Regions from separate parts of the Homo sapiens genome. Here region 2 is linked to region 1. The links are contacts of gene promoters, found by promoter capture Hi-C in human tissues and cell types (Jung and others, 2019). All regions are on one chromosome and are shown on one strand. The core of a region is centred on a gene start or on the middle of the fragment in contact, and the rest is flanking DNA. Distances in the headings are between cores, read along the strand shown.

The links. The method cuts DNA at HindIII sites, captures the fragments that hold promoters and counts their contacts. A contact is called where the count stands out against the background at its distance.
Region 2: a contact is called between a fragment that was not itself captured here and the fragment with the promoter of NR2F1 in region 1, in 3 of the 25 tissues and cell types used here (IMR-90 fibroblasts, aorta and mesenchymal stem cells).

Annotation. Positions count from the first base shown.
Region 1 is chr5:93,577,955-93,585,151 of GRCh38, reverse strand. It overlaps NR2F1 (nuclear receptor subfamily 2 group F member 1), which reads right to left and starts at 1,930. Exons shown (of 3, transcript NM_005654.6): 1 at 1-1,930. The coding sequence starts at 128. It overlaps NR2F1-AS1 (NR2F1 regulatory antisense RNA 1), which reads left to right and starts at 3,933. Exons shown (of 8, transcript NR_186187.1): 1 at 3,933-4,010. RefSeq lists silencers at 801-880, 3,488-3,537 and an enhancer at 3,658-3,757. The HindIII fragment of the contact is 15,492 bases long and covers 1-7,197 here.
Region 2 is chr5:92,557,967-92,565,163 of GRCh38, reverse strand. LOC105379082 (a long non-coding RNA gene) reads left to right here. Exons shown (of 4, transcript NR_188298.1): 3 at 5,131-5,365. Among named protein-coding and RNA genes, the nearest start is that of LINC02058, 380 kb to the left of the region's middle. RefSeq lists an enhancer at 3,818-4,474. The HindIII fragment of the contact is 8,223 bases long and covers 9-7,197 here.

The DNA.
Region 1 (7,197 bases), core at 681-3,180:
TGCTGCTGCTGCTCGCCGGCGCCGCCGCCGCCGCCGCGGGCCGCCTGCGCTGCGGGGTTGGGGCCGCCGGGGTTGCCCCCGGCCACGTCGTCCTGCGGATCTCGCCAGCTGCTAACTACCATTGCCATATCTTTGGGCCCGGGGAGCGCTGGGGGGAGCCGAGCTGCTCGCCGAGGGCCGCGGGGCGCGCGGGCGCGCTGGGAGGGGAAGGGGAAGGGGAAGGGGGGAGGGGGAGGGGGCGGGGGGCCCGCCGGGCGCCCCGGGGTCGCAGGAGCCGAGCCCGAGCCGGACACCGGCCGCTGCCTCCGCCGCCGCCGCCGCTGCCGCCGCTACTGCCTCGGCCGCCCCGCTGCTGCTGCGCGCCCGCCCGCCCTGCTGGCGTTTTGTTGTGGTTCCTGCTGTTTTCTTTCTCTCTTTTTGCAGCCCCCCCAGGCTCTCAGGCTCCCCCCCCAACACCCCTGCTCCCCTCGCCCGCTCCCCCCGCGCTCCGTTCCTGGGGGGGCCGCGCTCTCCTTCCCCCCTCCCCACCCCCCGGCGAGCAAGCTCCCTTCTCTCGCTTTTTTCTTCTTCCCCAAGTTGCAAAATCAGAAATGGCACAGGCGGCAGCCGGGAGCGGCGCGGGGCGCAGCGCCGGGGGCGGCGGGCATGGGCCACGGCGCGCGCACACACTCGCCCTCCGCCTCGCCCGCACCCCCGCGCACACACACACTCGCACACACAGTCGCTCACCCGCGCCGGGCGCCCGCCCGCCGGCCGCTCGGGCTACGCGCAGCGCGCGGGCTGAGCCGACATAGAGGAAGCCGGCGAGGGCGGAGGCGGCGGCGGCGGCGGAGGAGGAGGAGGTCGCGGCTGCAGGCGCCGCTGGAGCTGCCGCCGGAGCTGCTGCGGCGAGCGCCGCTGGAGGAGCCGGGACCCGGGCCGGAGTCCGAGCAGGAGTCGGGGCCGCAGCCGGAGCGCGAGCGGAGGCCGGGGCCGCCCGCGGCGCCGCCGCTGTCCCGGCGGGAGCCCTCGCCGGGCTCGGGAGTGCGGGGAGCGCGGTGAGCCGAGCAGGGCGCTGGGCGAGGCTGCCGCCGGCGATCAGGGCGCGCGGGTGTCGGGGGGCCAGGTCCAGGGCCGGACGCAGCCAGCCATTCAGGAAGGCAGCGCTGGAGAGCGGGAGGCAGCCGGCGAGGAAGATCACACACTTTGCTCTTTTTGTTGTGCCGGTGGCGCCGGGCTCTCGCTGCCTTCTTCTTTCGGGAGGTGACGGAAGGGGGAGAAAAATACGGGATAATTCACGCCGGCGACGAAATCACAGCGAAATAGAAAAAATAAAAATCAGAAGAAAATAATTGCCAAAAAAAGGAAAAAGGAAAAGCGAGAGAGACATCCAAAGTAGGTCGAATAAATAATCCTCTTCTTTTCCTCTTTCTTGCTCCTTCTTCTGCTTCTTCTGCTATAACACACAGAGCTAGTTAAAAAAACCCTGGAGATCGCCCAAAAATGTTCTTTTTTTAGTATTTTAAATAAGTGCTCTTCAGCCGGCAACCAACACCCTCCCTCCAAAAAAAATCATATATGTATAAAATAACGATAAGAAGAATACGAAGGGGGTGCCTCCTCCTCCTCCTCCTCCTTTTTTTTTTCTTTAAGTTTAGCCCTCTCTCTTCTGCAGGAATGGAGTAAAAGAGACAAGGAGGAGGGAGAAAAAGGAGAGAAAGGAGAAGAAGAAGGGGAAAACAACTAGTAGAATATGTAAGAAAAGAGAAAGAGAAGAGAGGTTCAGAGAAGAGAGGAGAGAGAGAGGAGAGGAGGGAGAGAGGGGGGAGAAAGAGGAGAGAGAGAGAGGAGAGAGAGAGAGAGAGAGAAGAGAAGAAGAGAGAGAGAGAGAGAGAGAGAGACCCAAAAATTGAATGCGTTTAAACGGGAGGACTCGCAGAGCAATGTTTCCGAAAGGGGGATCTGCGCGAATGTCTGTATATAGTGAACTTTGACACTACTATTGAAACTGACACGTTTCTATGGAGATCGCTGCCTTATATGGAGCTCGTGTCAAGGAGCCAAGAGAAGGGCTGCTGGCAACTGATAATCAAAGGCGACTGACTGGTCAGAGCCCTGAATCGGGGGGAGAGAAAATGGGAGGCTAAGGTTAGCCAAGCCTCCTGCACGCCATTGGTTGGAGAGCCCCTCCCCCCTCCTCTTTTGCTTTCTTTCTCCCCCCCCCGCTTAGCTACCTACAGACTGGGATGGTGTGGGGAGGAGGAGAGAAAGTGAGGGAGGGGGGTGTGTTTCTGACAAGCGCAATTTACATTGAGATCGCCCTGCGCTGCTATTTACTCTGAGACCTGATTAGTATGGGTCGTCTATGGTCACACACACACACACATACACACACACACACTTACGCTCACACCCCAGAGGGGGAAGGGATGACGAGGGGGAGAACGCCTAGCGATGGGCAAAAGGAGAATTAGAGGGAAATTATTTTGATTTCTTCTGAAAAGTTTTTAAAATTAGATTTTATGAGCGTGAAGAGAGTGTCATTGAAAATGTTTGGAAAAATTTTTAATGGGAATGAAACCCCCACCATTTTAATGATTTGTGAAATATACTGGATTTGGATTGTTTTCTTCTCTCACATATAAGCACAATCCAAGTCTGGATTCTGCTCATTTTATATCCTTTTTAGAAACAAGTAGAAACAGGGTAGGATCTCCCTATTTTTTAATCCAAAGTATACCTTGGTTTAAAAGGTTTAATGATGACAAAGCACACTCCTGGAATTTGCAGCTATTGCCACAAATTCGATCGGAATCAAGGGTTCCTATTTATCCCAAAGATGATTTTAAAAATAAACTTTCCAATCAATCCAATTTTTCCTTCTTCTTTTTTTTTTTTTTTATCACCTGGCTGTTCCAAACTCCAACAATGCTTCAATCATTATTAATAAAACAGTAGTAAGTCCCCATATTGTTGCAGGGTGGGGGGAGATTAGTGTGGCCAAGTCAGTCCCGGGAAAAGAGCAAACAAACGAGAAGATGGAGAGGGGGGGAGGCGGAGAGGGAGAGAGAAAAGGGGGAGGAGGAGAGAGAGAGACAGAGAGAGAGGAGAGGAAAGGAAAGAGAGGAGAGAGGAGAGCGCGCGAGATATTGAGAGAGAGAGAGAGAGAAGAGAGGAGAGGGGAGAGAGAGAGAGAGGAGAGAGAGAGAGACCCAGAGAGAGAGGAGAGAGAGAGAGACCCAGAGAGAGAGAGAGAGAGAGAGACCCAGAGAGAGAGAGAGAGACCGAGAGAGAGAGGAGAGAGGAGAGAGAGAGAGAGGAGAGAGAGAGAGAGAGGAGAGAGAGAGAGAGAGAGACGAGAGGGAGAGGGAGAGGGAGAGGGAGAGGGAGAGGGAGAGGGAGAGGGAGAGAGGAGAGGGAGAGGGAGAGGGAGAGGGGGAGAGAGAGAGAGAGAGAGAGAGAGAGAGAGAGAGAGAGAGAGAGAGAGAGAGAGAGAGAGAGAGACCGAGACCCCGATTCCTGAATCCTGAAGGTGATTGGTCGCGGGAGGAGGGGCAGGCGGGAGGAGCGGGTCCCGCGGCGGGGCTTGCAGGAATCGCTGGCTCCGGCTGCCACCTAGCGGACGGGAGCCGCTCCCGGGCGGCACACAGCCGAGTCCCTCCTCCCCTCCCCGCAGGCAGCCTGTGCCTTTTCTCCAAACGAAGACAGCACTTTGAAAATTCTTTCAATGGATTTTTTTTTCCTTGAAAGATCGTACTGGGGGAAAATGATACTTCTATTAGTTACATATTCTCCAATCGCATACTCGCACCCCCCTCGTTTTGAGATCGCTCCCCTAGGCAGGCTCAGGCGGGCGCGGAGCCGCGCGGAGTGACAAAGCCGCCGCTGCCGCCGCCGGGGGTGGGAGCCGCGCTCGCCCGCCCGCCCCTCGACTCGCGAGGGCGTAAAAGTTTGTCTCAGCTCGAGCATTCCTAGCGCCAACACGCCCTCAGGTAAAGGTGGAAGTAAATGGCCACGCTGTATTGACAGAGGTAGGGTTTGTTTTTTAATACTCGTTCTCACTTTAAGTCTCACCAGGGAGGGGTTTGGGAAGCACTGCGTGTTTGGGGGACGTTTTGCGCTTCCTGGTCTCTCCAGCCTACAAGTCGGGAGTCGGCGACCGCTTAGTGACGAGCGATGATTTTAAAGAGCAGAATAAAAGGTTTTCCCGTGCCTGCCCCACAGCCCCTCCAGCTCGAATAATGGAGAACTGTCAATGCACTCCGCGAGCGGTGGCCCATTGTACGCAGCTGATGGCGAGGAGGCGACTGGGGGTAGCAGGGGCTCCTTGCCCTCGTCCCTATGCCCAAATAAACGCGCAAACGCGCTCCCGTCTTCTGGTCAGTTAAAAGGTGAAACGAACACGATTAAAATAGACCAAAAGAAAAGAAAGAAAAGAAAACCTTTCTATGTACAGATTCTAAATCGTACTCCCCATACAGTCAGAGGCAGGGAGTCGAGGGCAGAGGCAGCAGGCGGAGAGAGGGAGATAGGGCGAGGGAAGGAGAACGCGGAGAGAGACGAAGGGAGTGGGAGACCAGCGACAGCGAGCGCCAGGGCACCGCAGGCACACTGGATGCCCAGTCCGCCGGCCCAGCCGCCCTCGGACCCTGGACCGTGCGTCGTGGGCACCAGAAACGAGACTCGGCCAAATCCTGCCTCACCAGGCAAGTAACATAATGGTTGTCGTTTCTCTTGAACTTGGGGTTGGTAACGGGCAGGGCCGGGAGGCAGTCTTGGCTCGCACGGCCTCCGCAGGCCGAGAGCAGAGTCTAGGCAGCCAGGGCGGGACGAGGAGAACTTTCTTCGGGGCCTGCTCGGGAGTTGCCCTCGCTCGGCCTCTGTCTCGCCGTAGCGCTAAGGCGAGGATCGCGGCCGCCGCGCCTCCTTGGAGGGGAGGATCGTGCCAGGCGAGCAGCAATCCACATTCAAAACAGGCTGCTCCCACCCCCACCCGCTATTCCCTCTCTCTCCTAGGCGGGAAACGGATGCCCGGGCGGAGGACGGGGACCCGCACGTTTAACACCGGCCCGGCTGTTCCTGCTGGTGCCGAGCGCGACCCGCGGTGGAGCCGGCTGCAGAGTCCGGCCCGGCTGGCCCTTGTGCCCGCGCCTTGCCTGGTTACGGCCTGAACCTGGCGAGCTTGGCTGCAGCCGCCCACCTGCGGACGCCGTTTGTAACGCCATCCCCTAATGTAACGCGATCGATGGCTGCCTGTCTGATGTGGGCGATAGTGTCAGCGGATTAAAAGGGACATCGAGCCGCTCTCCCGAGCAGACAACCTGCGGCGGCGGCGAGAGAGCACCGGGATTCGCAGCCTAGCAGCCGAGCCAGACTCCCTGCGCCGCTGCCAGCCGGCTGGGGGCGGGGAGGGGGTCGCCTCCCAGGGGTGGGGACAGAGGGGGTGTGTTGAAAGGAAGAGGCTCAATTAAAACCAACAAGAGCGCTTTCCTCCGTGCGGGGCAGGGGCGTGCGTTTGCGTCAGAGGGCGCGCGGGGGGCGGGGGCAGCCGATGCTGGGGACTGCACCCGGGGGCTGGGGGGTCTCGGAAGCGAGGAGGCCTTGCCTAGCTGGGCTGGCCCGGGGTCAGGCCCTGTAGGTGAGGGCCAAGGCGAGACGGGATGACAGCTGAGCCTGCCCGGGAGCAGAGGCGCCCACCCATCCTTACTGTGGGCTCTCCGTGCCCCCACAGAGCTTTCAAACTTGAAAGAGGCCCCTGGGACCCGGCGTGACCCTAGCGGTGGGGAGAAGTTGGGCCCGCGAGGCCTCAGGCGAAGCCGCGGGCTCCTCCGGAAGGAAGGAGGAGGGTGAAGTCCCCTGTCCTAGTCCCAGGGGTGGGAGTGGGAAGCTGTTGGTGGTGATGCCCGGAGCAGCGGAAGCCCGCGGCTTTTCGGAGGAGGGGAGCGGCTCGCACTCCTACGGGGCATCCTTGCCAACTTTCTGTCACAAGAGGGGGCGGGGAGAAACCAAGGCTTTTCGAGGAGGGCGCTGTCCCCCTCTGGAACTCGTCCGGCCTGAGTGGCACTTAGAGCTCAGTTTCTCTTCGGAAGCCTGTGCTCCCCGACCGCGGTTGCACACCCACAGGGCGCCCCACTTGTGCTCATAGCCCTGCCTCCAGCAAAAATGTCTTCCCTAGAGGCACTGAGAGGTCAGCTTAGTTCCTGGGAAGCCCTTTCTTTCTTTCTTCAAGGCTCTCTTTTGATACTGGTCCCAATTGGCACACTTGTCCTGGGCCTAATGCGACCCACACTCAACCAGGAAATAATGATATCTGTTGTTGTGGGGTAGGGTACCTAATAGAAAACTGATCATAGTTTTCGAGAGTACTTAGATCCCCCAATTGGGAAATCCTACATACTTGTCCAGGCACGCTCAGCTGCAGGAGCAGAAAACGCAGTTGTAGTGTCCACGTTTCTTTCACCCACCCCCTCTTCTTCAGATCTCTCTCCCTCCCTTCTAGGCCAGGCCTTTCACCTCGGAACCTTAAGCTGAGTCTGGACGTGGTTCTTGGACTCGGACCGCTGTGGCTCTTGCCTCAGCATCCTACCCGAGGCCTCCAGCCAGGCCCACAGGGGCTCAGCCCTCTCCAGGGTCTCTCTTTCGGTTTGGCGGGTCTGGGAACTGTAAGGGCCTTGCCGGGGCCTGGGCTCCCGGGAGCCTCCCTTCCTTCCTCTGCCTTCCTGGTTCCCACAGACCTGTTCAGTGCACACTAGATCTTTAGTGTAGTTCCCCAAAAAGGCGATGAGAAGGTACCGCTCCGCTTGGGGAAAGGAATTAGGCTGTAAGCCTATAGTACCCCTTGCGGGCTGCTAGCATCAAGCTCAGCGTTAATCACGTTTTAAAAGACATACCAGACAAAGCTTGATCTCTCCCAGCTTGCCACCCAGTAAATTGTGATCTGGTGAGAGAGGAAGAGAAGCACAGATCGGTTTGGCTGCACATTCAGGGTTGACTTGCGTTCCAGGCCCCAGAATCCGGATCTAAGCGGACTGTCTGTCTGTTAACATATCCTCTCCCTCCATATCTTTCTTACCACGAGGCTGAACCATTTTTCACTAATTCTATGGGCTTTTTTTGATATTGATATCTTGGTCTCCCGAAAGTCATTCATTTTAGCTTTTTGGTAAGTCACACTGAACAAAAGTGGCCTTGTAAAAACATTTTCTAAATCTAGTTCAA
Region 2 (7,197 bases), core at 2,871-5,370, 1.0 Mb after region 1:
AAATAAACACCCTGGGTTCTCCTGAAAAGAGAGAACTTTCAGGAGTTCTCTGTTATAGAAGTAGACAAAAAAATGATTATTTGCTGCACAGAATATTGTTTGTGGGTTCTTATTTTTATTTAATACTCTTTACACATGATGTGTATTTCTCAGCTCTGGGTTTTAAGAAATAATTTTACTTCTCAAAGAGGCAAAACTTTTTGGACAGAAGTTTTCCATGTGTACCTAAAAAAATGCAATGATTTTGGTAAAAATATATTCAATCTATTTTAATAATTATTAGTGAAAAAGATTTTTTTTTATTTTAAACTAAGATGACTATAAGCAATTTCTTTAACCAATCTGATTATTTGGTGGGCTTTTATTTCCAAGCATAAGGTTCAGTTCAATTATCTTTGTGCTTCTTCTTCCAGGTGTATAATTGTAAACAGTTTTAAAGCAAACTGCATGTATCTAATTAGGGCACTTTTATTCCATCCTATCAACGGTACTTATTGAAGATCTACTAGAGACTAGACACTTACTATAGATGAGTGTAGATTAAAAATAAATAAATAAATAAGACCTGCTCACTGCAGTCAAGCAGTTTTTGCTCTAGACATATTTACTTGAATAACTTAATGTGAGAAAAACTTTAGTGTCTAAATCATAATAGTATTCACAGAAGTTAATAAAATGAAAGTCAAGTTTGAAACAGTATTTAACTTTTTTCAATCTTTATAAATAAATTTTAATCTATTTCTTTAAAAAATTCTTTATTTCTTACCTGCTGTTTTTTGTTATTAGACTCTAAAGTTTGTCACTCACTCATGTATTTGAAATAAAAGCAAATCTTTACAATAAAAATAAAACATTTCCTTACTTAACAAAATGCCCATTTGCCAAATTGGAGTACAATAGATCGTCAGTTAAATGTGAAAAAGGAATTTTATATTTATCAAAATACATGCTGTATTACCAACTTAATGGTAAGATAAAAGAATTACTTTAAAGTGTTTTTGCATACATTTTTATTCTATATAACTTTCAAGGTCATCAAAAGAGTTATAGAGCTGTAAAGTTATTCCAGACATAAGAATTTTACCATTATCACTTTTCACTTTATGTAAATTGAATGAATTATATTATCATAGCTAGAATACTTAAACAATAATTAACCCTATGATTCAGTACCTATTTTTAATAGCACATTTTCTTCTAGATTGTTAGTAACTGTATTGATGTTTGGTAGGGGGCTACTATTTTTACTAGTTACCTGCATATATTGTACAGCACTGTCTTTAGCAATTTCTTGTAATGCTTGCATATACTAGCTGGTTAAGGGTGGGAATAGTAGCAGGGAATTCTCAATTGCTCTTATGAATTTGCAATTGAGAGATTGCAATTCTAGGTTCTGGCTCTTTTGCTACTAGAAACACATAATCATTTAAAAATATGTGTACTCTTATTGGGTCATGCTCTTTGTAGGAACATGTAGGTCACATACCATCTCCTGATATTCCCTTGTACACAATACCATATATATATATATATATAATTATGAAATATGACTTTATTCTTTGCCCCTGGGGAGAATAAAAAGTTATACAGCTATATAAGACTGAAATACCCCTTTCCAATCTAGGACCAAGAGAGTGGTTCTTTGGGAATGGAAAAAAGGAAGAGACTGTGAGGAATTAAATTTAGGTTTAATATTGCTCCAAGTTTATTAATTTAAAAGGAAGGGTAAGTTTTCAGTTGTTTGTCTGAAATGGCAACAAATGTAAATAAAATTTTAAGATATAATTTTATCCCCTAAGTTTATCATAACATTATGTTTTTATTTGTACTTACATTATGATAATTACCTCAAAAAACTTAAGAAACTGAAGGGAAAAATATGTCTAATATAGCTAATAAAAATAGTTTTGCTTGGATGCTAAGAATTAAACAGGTGGTATTTTGGCATACATTTGTTAGTGAGAAAGAAATGGCTAAAATACTAATTGTCATTTCTTCCCAAAACATAAAATTCTCTCTTAAATAATTTTTTCATTCACAATTATTTCTTCCAAACATTCTTATTGTACAGGTGTAAAATGTCATGTACCTTTTGAACATCTCTGAACATTAACAGAAGATATAAAGATATTCAAAAAGGGTAGTTGTTACACGTACTTTGAAGCCAGTAATCACATATTTGTGTTTGTTACTGATGTCTTAATGTCCCAAAGTTGCTCTAAGTAGTTACAAGAACACAGAATAAAAATCATGAGCTTGGGGAAACATATTTTCTAACCAGTAGAACATCAATATGCCACAAATATTTTCTCTACTGACAAACTGTAATGAGGTAAAAATGCCTTCCTGCAGTAAAATCTTACCTTGAGGTTAGATGCCATCTATCTGTAGCTAAGGCATCCAAAACAAAATAAAACAAAACAAAAAAACAAAAAAAAAGTGTAATTCTTACCAATACAAAAAACAAAACTCAGACTATTGTAGGAGTCTGCCATTTTTCATAATAATTTTATGTTTAATCATAATTTTACCATTTGTAATCTTTTCAATTTTTCTGCTTTTTCCTATTAGAGATGAGTTTTAACATTACTGGTGTCCAAAACAAGTAAAAGAAACAGGTAAAATATAGTAGAGGAGATGAAAAATATAGCAATGATCTCACATTTGTGTAGTTCTCTAGAATTTACAAAGTGCTTTTGGATAGAACAACAACCTCAAATTGAAGTCCAGATTAGAATATTAAATTGATCAATTCTTTATTATTATTACTAACATTGTTTTACAAACTGTGAGGATATTCATTACACAGTACAGAGATCTGGTACTCATTTTGAGGAATGAAATGTAATGACTAAACACAGTATAAACAGTATAACCTATTTCACATTTCATAGAAAAGCTATTTGCTTTGGCTAAGTAAATAAATCCTTTCCACTCAGAAACAACTGTTGCAAATATGTAAATTTTAGATAATCAAACACTGTCCCTTGAAATAGTCTATTTATTGTAACTCTAAAAATCATTCTGGGGATACTTAGCTTAATCTCAGGGTACATTATACATTTCACACATTTAACATTTTATTTTGTAAAAAATGCAATTGAAATTGAGTACCTCCTTATTTTGGTGGAGGGTATTATAATCATTTTTCTCTAACTTTTAGATGTCAGGGAATAGTACTTGGATTTTACATAGATATGTTTTGTTTCTTCAGAATGCAAGCTCTGATTTCAGATTTAGTCAGAAAAGAGATACACATAAATCTATATGACCAGAAGAGATAAGTAGATCGTAAAAAGTCCACACACATCATAACCCTGCACATCTAACACACAGATAAGGACAGTTACAGATTATTATGGCATGGATAACTTGATAATCTATGGTGAATCTATGATAAATTTCAAACTATAACAAATACAATGACTCATATTTTTTAAGGAAACAAACCATGAAGGCATAAATTTACCCTGAGATTTGTGTCACTAAGAAACTGAATAGTTCAAAGTCAAACATTATATGACATGCTTTAGATTGCTCTTATGAAAGGCACTATAGAAATGTCACCCTATTATAACCTACTGTATTTAAGAATTAACTGCAGCAGAATAGCCACAGGAGATGAATATATACTGATATGATCATCCCCTCCTATTACTCACCAGTAGTTAATACAAAGCATGCTTTAGAAAAGAATCTATAAGACAAAGAAATAAACACACTGTTAAAAAAGTACTGCATTTAATATCAGGATTTTTAAATTAATTCTAACAAACCCTTATATTGTAGTATTTTATCTTTAATAATAGGAGCTTTTCATTTAAATGATGCAATCAGTATGCCACAAGCGGGTTCTTTCTTTAGTGGGAGGAGTTAGCAGCTCCAACATTCAATTGACCTGTTTCCAAATAATCTACAGGAAAAAAATGAAGATTAAGTCCTCTAACAAGAGCAGTTTTCACAGCCTTGCATACAAAGAGAAGGATTCGGTAAAAAGATGAGAGGGCAAGCCGCATTGTGCTGGCCCACTTAAATCTTATTTCCAATTCACTAAATGTGTTATTTGACTTGGCAAGTGAACTAGTATGTGTATTAGATCAGCAGGGAGCCTAATCAAGGAGATGCCAAGTTTACTGCAGCCCCTCTGAGCTGCATTAGCCTCAACTAGTGACCTTAAGCAAAGTGGGTGGTTGAACCCAAAAGAGAATAGCATTAACTTTTGCTTGAAGTTCAGCCTGAAGTCTCCTTTTGTGCCTTATTCCAAAAAAAAAAAAAAAAAAAATGCAAAAAGCATTTAACAGAATTGAATATAACAGAATTGAATCTAGTCTGCTCAGCACCATCTTCACACGCAAGGCTTCATAGAAGCTTGCCTCCATTAATGCTGACACATGCAAAAGAAATGAAAAGCATTAACTCAGCTGAGGCACTTGATTTTGCAGCTGCAGAACAATTCACTTTGTAACTCAGTAACTAAGATGGGGTTTTTCCGCCCAGATAAATTGCTAATTTGCTAATTGATACAAAAGTATTTTCAAATATTAAATAAACTGCAAATAAAGCAAAAAGAAAAAGAACACTAAGTTACAAGGACACCTGAAAAATATATAGCTTAGCATTAACGGATATACATATTTTTAAAGACCTATTTTACCTTGTACACAGCATTGAGCATCCATTCCCAGTTGTATGTAATAGCTTGGATGTGTAAGTGAACTCTTCAACGATATATTTGTACCAAGTAAAATGCAAACCTGTGTAGTTAAAAAATGTTGTTATATAATAAATTCAAGCAATAGATTTATCTTTAGAAACATCTTTGTTCTCAATTTAGTTTCCCTATTTTAAACTTTCCGTCTTGTCTATATACTCAAAGACTTCTAATAATGCCAGTTTTACACATTGTTTAGAAATACTTTGGAATCTATCTTTAATTCCAGGATGTTCGACTCAGAAATACTCATACAGCAAAAATTGGTTGGATATGAAGATTACAAAGTTATTGAAACTCAAAGACCTTCTGTAATGCCTTTGGTTGTAAAAGTTTTCTCTTTCCTAAGCCAAGGTTCTTTTCTTTTCTTTTTTTATTCATCCTTCATTTTCCACTGTTTGTTTGGCTTCCCTCCTCAGATCTGAAACGAAGCCAAGCAAAGCAACATCACCTTCTGGAAAGTGCAGAAACTGCAATCAAGATCAACAAAGAAAAGCACCCTTCCCATAGATTCATCTCTTTGGCGTTTAAGTGTTTGGGCGAGTCTACAAAACTCAGATTCCTCATTTAACTAGATGTTCCAGGTCACAGAGATATTCTACTAAGGCAATTTTCAAAAGACCATAAAACCACCACATCAATTTATGCTTGCAGGTAGTATAATTGCCTTTGTATCATATATTTTTAGAAAAAGTGGCTTAAAACAATTTGAATAGTGCTTTAGAAATAAGACCCTTAAATAATTGACGCTGGTATTGCCTTTCTTAACTCTGGGATTTCAAAACATTTTCCAAACATTAATTGCAATGGGACCCTGGTGAGGCTGATATTATCATACCTATTTTCCAAGACGATAAGCAGGGAGCGCAGGGCCCGTTTCTTGTCTTGCCCCATGCCCTTCAGAGCTTGTCCAAGCTCAGAGCTCCCTTAAAAACCATTGGATCAGCTCCATGGGAGCACAGAGGAAAATGAGAAATGGGCTCTTGGAGATTTAAGGGATTCTGTAAGGTTGTGTGTGAGTGAGCTGTAGCTAAAAGTCAAAGCTGGAAATCTAAGATTCCTTATTCAGTGCTTGGATATATTTCCTCATTAAGATAATTCATGTAGAATATCAGGCTTGCAGGAATATGCTGGTAAGAAGTGGACTCTGTTGCTGTTTGTTTTTGAGTAACTTATTTAATAACAAAAATGCCTCCCTTTGATTTGAATAAAAATAAATGGCTGGATTTTCACAGGCAGCATGCATAGAAGACCAGCAAGGGCCAACAGTGAATTTCGACACTGACTTTTAAAAATTGTGAAAGAGATGCTAACAGCCTAATTTGCAGTGGAGACTAGATTCTGTGGCTGTATCAGGTGGTGGTATAAAGAAGAGCCATATACAGAAGGTGAAATGAGGGGTTAAAAGTCACGCTAAACATGCTGCAAGGACCTGTGGGCATCCCAACCTTTTTTTCTTTAATTGGGAGGAGAAGAGCTTTTTACTAAAGAGTAAGTTCCACAATGTAGGCCGGTGGCCCAACTGGGAAATACTCTTGATTTGAACAGTTTGCAGCAGTTCTTTTCTGAACTCTTTATATAGATCCTCTTTCAATATGGGGACACATATTTTAAGGTAAAAGGGGTATTTTACTAATTTTTTTTAATGAAGCTTTCACTGCAAGCAATATTTGGAGTTAGTAATCACCGGCTGGTTTCTTTCCCTCCTGCACTGCAGGAATGAGGCCACTTTCACAGCTGGTTGTCAGCACATCTCTTATTACTAACACCAATTATTGATTTTTAAAAGGCCTACGCTATTAGTACCCTGCTACATCTCTTCACGTACAATATGTGTTTTAAAAATTCCTTTTGTAAAAATATAAAATCTGAGTCCAACCTTTCTATCATCACTGTGCTTGTTCTTTACATTTTATCTTATACCTTCACAGGAAAGCAAACCCGGAATCTTTTTTTTTTTTTAACTTTTGGGCTAATTTAGAAGCAGAAATACTTTGCCCATATGATCTCTCTGGCAGGTATCACATTATAAAAAAGCAAATGGTGCGTAGTGAGGGAGGATGAAAGAACATAATTAGAGGGTTTAGGATCTTCTATCCCCTTTTCTCTGCCTTTATTTCGTGCCATCCCAATCTATGTTTAAGCCAATCATAAAAACCCACCTGGCGTCATCCCCACTAGGGTGGCTGCTTTTGCATAGGACTGCACCCCAAATTGGACTTTTCTCTTCTCTTTGAAAGTTCTCAATGAAGGTGAATTTTAGGATTTCTTTCAAAAGATACTATTCACACGTCAGTCATTCTAGTTGTTGATATATTGTCCAAATGATAGGCGGCTCTGAGAATATTTATCTTTAGCAATATTTATGGGTGTATTAGTTTTGTAGAGCTGGTGTAACAAAGCTCTATGAAAACGCTACAAAGCTCACCAAAAACTGGATGGCTTAAACAGCAGAAATTAACGTTCTCATAGTTCTAGAGGCTAGA